2 separate regions of the Homo sapiens genome follow, and region 1 is linked to region 2. The links are contacts of gene promoters, found by promoter capture Hi-C in human tissues and cell types (Jung and others, 2019). All regions are on one chromosome and are shown on one strand. The core of a region is centred on a gene start or on the middle of the fragment in contact, and the rest is flanking DNA. Distances in the headings are between cores, read along the strand shown.

Evidence for each region. The method cuts DNA at HindIII sites, captures the fragments that hold promoters and counts their contacts. A contact is called where the count stands out against the background at its distance.
Region 1: a fragment that was not itself captured here is called in contact with the fragment with the promoter of FAT4 in region 2 in 1 of the 25 tissues and cell types used here (dorsolateral prefrontal cortex).

The regions. Positions count from the first base shown.
Region 1 is chr4:127,130,854-127,133,971 of GRCh38, reverse strand. All of the region lies in intron 5 of LOC102724210 (a long non-coding RNA gene), which reads left to right. Among named protein-coding and RNA genes, the nearest start is that of INTU, 500 kb to the left of the region's middle. The HindIII fragment of the contact is 3,903 bases long and covers 1-3,118 here.
Region 2 is chr4:125,313,474-125,316,421 of GRCh38, reverse strand. FAT4 (FAT atypical cadherin 4) reads right to left here and starts at 1,467. Exons shown (of 18, transcript NM_001291303.3): 1 at 445-1,467; 2 at 1-22. The coding sequence starts at 10. The HindIII fragment of the contact is 10,793 bases long and covers 1-2,948 here.

The sequences.
Region 1 (3,118 bases), core at 304-2,803, 1.8 Mb before region 2:
ATGTGTACATGCACATATACATGTAAGCTAAAATGTAAATGTAAGTTTTATATGAATAAAAGTATTAATACTGAATTTATTTTAAAGTAGATTGCATATTAGATTTCCAGTAATTTATGTAAATTTTCCCTCCAGTTAGTTAACATTATAAAAATGTTACTAGACTGATACTTTTTTATCTTAGACATTTATAATGCTTCAAGCATTGCTGCAGTTTTTATTCTTACATGTAACTTCAGGGTGGGTGGGTAAGAAACTTGTTACTTGTAGGTTATCAATGGAGAAGGCAGAGCCAATGATTCATGAGCTTCTGGGGACTCAAAATACTATTCTTTATCATTATTTCTGGAGTCACAAGGGCTACTTTGAACAATTGAAGAAAAATAGTAAGTCTTTGAAAGTAGACTCCACTGCAGAAAACAAATAGCTATATTCTAGCCTCATTTTTCTTTTTTCCCATATTAGAGTTGGTCCTCTGCATAGGTGTCTGTTTGGGTCACATTATCTATGAACCGTACTTGAATAAATTGCTAGCTCTCTTGCAGCTGCAAGTGCTGGCTATTTTGTTTGAATTTGTAGCTCTTTGATGTTTTCTGGCATGCACGATTTTAAAATTTAGATACAGCCTGCAATTTTTTTGAAGTCCTAGACAATTCTGATTGAGTAAGTCTTATTAACTCAGTTTAGAAGTTTGAATCTAAACCTTCACAACCCTCCTTTTGAAAGGTGTCGAGATGTGTGGTAGGGGGGATTATTTTTAATGAAACTAAGCTTGCATATTTTTCAGGTTTGAAGATGCAATGGGTTGTATCTATTAATTTACAGAACTTTAGAGACTTTAGAGACAGGATAGCAATTGACTAGGATATTGAATTTTTAAAGCAATTTCATTTCACAGTATTAAATTGGAATCTAACTGTAATGCCAGAAAGTTTAGATGACAACTTCATTTCTGTAGTACAATTCATCTATTTTCCCTATTCATATGTTGCAGGCCACAATAATTAGTTTTAGAAAAAGGCAAGAGGAAACGTAAAAGGAAATTTCTCTTTTGATACCTTATGAAGACATCCACCCCTAAGGATAGTTTTCTGTGACTGCATTTGTGAGAGGCAGAGTCAATGACATTAATGTAGGCTCTCCTTCCTTCATGGCTGTGATCTGGCATGTCTGAATATACAACTGAAATAAAAATGACCGGTGAGTCTACCTTGGAAAACTCAGAAGCCAACTGGAGATCCTGTTGCAGCCACACTCAAGCACATAATCGAAACCAGGTTACCACTTCTAAGTCAGAAAATTAAAAATGACATATACTGGCTTTGCTGAGGGGGTCGGGCTCCCCTTGCAGGCAGTGGCAATTCATAATCATGGATGAGGAAGGGGCAGCACAAAGGTCACTGTTGTTCACTATATTACACGTTTTCATTGTCTTCTAGATATTTCAGGGATAACTTTCTTTAGGTGGTAAAATTAAAAACACCCCAAAATGTGTGATTTGCTAACGATTTTTATAAATGTTTTATTTTTAGATAATTTTAGATTTGCATGCGGTTGTAAGAATTAACACAGAAAGATTCATATACCTTTCACTCAGTTTTCCCCAGTGGTAACATCTTGCATAACTATAATACCACACCCAGCGTACTGGGTGAATCCATCGGTAATGAATATGTGGCAATCCATCAGCCTTATTTATAATCATCAGTTTACATGGACTTATTTGTGTGTGTGTGTGTGTGTGTGTGTGTTTAGTATTTAGTTTTATTCAGTTTTCTTATAAGTGCAGATTTGTGTGACCACAACCAAAGTTAAGATACAAAACAGTTACATCACAAAGATTGCTTATGCTAAACTATTAATGAAGGATATGCTCAAAAGATTTATTTACCAATTTGAATAGATTTTCTGAGGTTATTTGTATCTAAAATGGTTTGAAAAGACACCAAGTGACTAAGAAGACAGAAGATAAACTCCTCACTAATTTCAAGACATAGGCTGAAGTTGGGTGAGCTGATCTCTCTGTGGAGTTCTCTGGGAATACAATGAATGACCATGCTTCTTTATAAGAAAGAAATTGCTGAGCAGAAAGTAGAGAAAGATTTTAATGATATCTGCAGCAAAGAATAAAGTCAGGGCTTTAAGGTAGAGGTTAGTAGGCCTTTTGCACAGTTTTAACAAAAGGAAGGTAAAAATTACAGACTCAGATTCTTTTATATTTTAAAAAAAGAAAAAATGCAATGTCAGCAAGAATATACATATAAAGCGTTACTGGTCTGTGGTCTGTAAAAAGAGCCTTCTCCCTCTGGGAAAACAATAAAAAATTATTTGCCCCTGTATCAAATTTAGGACCACTTATGAAAATGGCTAGCTTGGCAGAGGCGGCTGCTTAGCTGGGAGCTCAATTGTACAATTCACTTGTAGCTCAGCATGAACTTTCCTCATAGACAATAGACATTTGTGTTCACACATTTGAAAAATGAACTTACACAAACAACTGCAATTTATACTGTTCCTTGAAACCATAAAACGTTAACACTTTTAAACTAATGGGTTTTGGGCTACCCTCAAAATAAAGCTTTGTGTTTTCTGCTGCTACCCTTTATTTCTAGGGTAATGAAGACCATCTATAAAGGGAAATTGTTAATAGCAGAGAAATTGTGAGAAGTCAATCATAAAAGCTGCATGTTGGATTTTTTCCCCTTCTTTTGTCCCTGTTGAATTAAAAAGATTTTTTTTTGTTTGAATGAGAATGTTGGTTTAGTTATTACATAATTAAAAATTCTCCTCTTTTCACTATTAGGCAGAAAGGACTGCCTGAGATACTGTTGATTAAACCTATTTTAGTATTATCATCTCACCGATCAACTGGACTAAGGTTTATTTTTGAAGACCTGAAATTTACTGCTAGATCTAGATGGTAAAGGTCTAGGAGGATGTATGAACTAGAAATATACCAAGGAGGATGTTATTTCCTTAGAAAATGCTAAGAGGACTAAAGCACAAGAACTTAAGCCTTGAGGTCTTGAAATTTTCGCTTCCGTTGTGCTAGCTCTACCTCATTTCCTAAACTTGCCTCACCCACTCATCCACCACAGGTCCTCATCGCCTCCACCTG
Region 2 (2,948 bases), core at 218-2,717:
CTAAGTCCATGGTCCTGGCTCCCTAAAACGATGTGATAAAGAGAAGGAAGGGGTGAAGCAAACGCAATGATATTTACAGGGATTAAGGAGCGCCAGCAAAGATTCAGCTGACGGCTTGGTCTGAGACCTCTGCTATTTCAAAGAACCTCCAGTCCGGCAAAAGCAAGTAGCATCAGCAAAAGACTCTAGGTAGCCAGTTGAACGCGGAGTGCAAGAGAGATGCTGTGGCGAAAAGCGGCAGGGCATTCCGCGGGACACTCCTGTGAGCTGAGTTCCCAGAAAAGTTTCTCAAGCCTCTTATATATGCCCCCTTTTACTTTGTTTTTGAATCCAGATAGTCTGAGCGTTTTCACCCGGGTGGATGAGAGTTGGGAGAAGTTGCCTGTATCTAAGGTATATGAGGAATCATTGCAAAGAACGGTCTTCAGAAACTTTAGAACTTACCCGCAGCGAAGAACGTGAAGAGGGAGGAACAAACGTCCAAGCACAACTGCGCACCGGGGAAGGGGTGGTGGGGAACCGGGAGAATCGAATTTCTTTCCCAAAAGCTGGAGGCGATGGAATTCCTGGAGTCCCCACTCCTCAAAAACCAGGCTGCAACGCCCCTCCAACAGGGCGCCGGCAGTGGCCGCTGAGGCCCAGGCGGCGGCGTCTGCGCGCAGGCAGTTCGGGAACTGCGTTCCAAGCGCTAGCGTTCGCGCTCTGGCTCCCGTACCCGGGAGCGCTCAACTCTGCCCCTTCCCCTCCTGCAGCCGCCGCCGCCGCCGCCCCTGTTGCGGCTTCAAGCCCGTGGTCCGGCACAAACAACAGCCAGGGCTCCTCGGCATTTTTCACCTCTGCCGGGGCGCCTGCCGACCCATTATTTGTACATCCAAATCGAACGCAGTTTCCCCTTTCTTCTCGGCCTCGCAGGGGTCGGGCAGAAACAGCGTGCGGTCCCCGAGTCGCCCTCCCCTCACCATGCCAGGGGGGGTCGTTCTCCGGCGGCCCCAGTCAGAAGCCCACTCTAGCGCGCCTCGCCCCTGCCCTCGCTATCTCTGCTTTTATTGTCCCGTGTCAGTTTCACTTTGTAATCCACAAGGCTTTTTGTTTGGGGCGGGGGGTGGTTGATGCCTCTCTCTCCTTCACAGTTGGCAGCGGAGGCGGCGAAGTCGGCGCTGGGCTGTAGTGACGCCCTCCGCAGCTCCGGACGGCGCCTGTCAGCGCTCTCCCTCTCGCCGGCCGGGGCCGAAGGTTGGACTGCGGTGGAGCTAGGGCTCCGCGAGCCCTTCTCCACCTCCCGCCTGGTCCCTCACACTCTCCCCGCCCCTTCCCCGCCGCACAGGCATGCACACACACACACATACACACGCACACACACACACACAGCGCGTCGCCGAAACACAAACAGAGGGGGAGGGAAGACCGCGAGCTGGAGCAGCACTCAGAAACTTTGCTCGACACTCATTGATCCCCGCACTTTAGTTCGCCTGGACTCCCCCTAGCTCCCAGTCCTGTCACCTTCTGCCCCTCCCTCGCCCCAGCCCCATTGGGCCGGAGCTGAAGCAGCCCCGACCGGCACTCCTACCGCGAGCGCCCTCCGCCTTGCCCGGCCTCCGACTGGCTTCTCGGGATGCTAATCACTTCAGCCTCCCGGAGGGCTGTAGGCGGTCTGGTGTGGGAGCACAGCGAGGCGGAGGCGCTAAAAAGGGGGGTGATTTTTTTTCTTTTCTTTTTTTTTTTTTTTTTTCCTTTTCGGCCAAATCTTGGCCGGCGTCAGAGCAATAACAGCAAAAGGCTGCCGCAGAATAGATGGGGGTGGGGTCAGGTTTGCAGATAAATAACTTTAGTGGCAGGGTCTGGGGGAAGACCGTTAGGTTGTTATGCTAGTAATAACTCAGGGGTAAGGGGGTCGAGAGAAATAAAAGAAAGGCGGGGGGTGAGGGTCTGTTAAAGCGGGGAGGAAGGATTAAGCAAAGCCTGTCTGGGAATGCACAGTGCAGATTTGCTTTAACCATTTCCTGCCCCTTCTCTCTTTATGCAAGGGATAGAGCTGCCATACAGTGTGATCCCACAGAATCCAAATCAAATCCTCCCCTTTGCTCCTCTTTCTACACAGTGGGCTCCCTGCTGTCTAGGGCGAGCTAAACTCTAAATCTTCACTCACTTGCCCCTCTCCCCCACCTTCCAGGTGACTAGGGGGCAGGAGGCCTCCGTAGCAAGGGCACTTTGGACTTCCTACTATAGGAAAGGCCAGGGGAACTCAGTGTTTGTTTTGTTTTCTTTCCCAACTGGATTCCAGGTGCCAGTAGCCCAAACCTTAGGGTTTCAACAACAATAATAATGGCAGCCCTTTGAAAAGAGGGAGATCTTTTCCTGTTGCAAAGTTAGTTTGGAATTTTGATCCCTGATGGAGTATTTCCACCTCCACATTTTTTAGTCAAAGGAAACCTAATAAAGTTTTATTTTGCTTTTCAGTCTGGGAGAAATAGATACGAGAAAGTAGAAATAAATAAAATAATATTTAAGCTTAAGTTTTTAAAAATACCCACATGCCACTTAATGCACTCAGATCAACTCACCCACTATTCACTGCAGTTAATTTTTGTGGTGGCATGCATCGTTTCTTTAAAAGAAGAAAAACGTTACTAGGAATCAGATCGATATTTTTCCCCTTTAAGGGAACCAACCTAGAAAATAAGAATTCAAGCCAAACAATGCAAATACAGGGCATATGTCATACATTTCTGCCACAAGGATCCCTCACAAACGTAAAACTTTCTGCGCCCAGAGAGGGTTCAGTCATGAGTAAATACTGCCCTCTGCTGTTCTACGTCAGTCTTACATCTTTAGTCTCCTGGTTTCTTGCTTAAAATTAAATGCAGAGACTAAAAGGATCGGATTACAAGGCTAATTCCTGCTTCTTGCCTAGGGATAGCAGCAAAGAAAACGATCTCTAAGACTTTCCT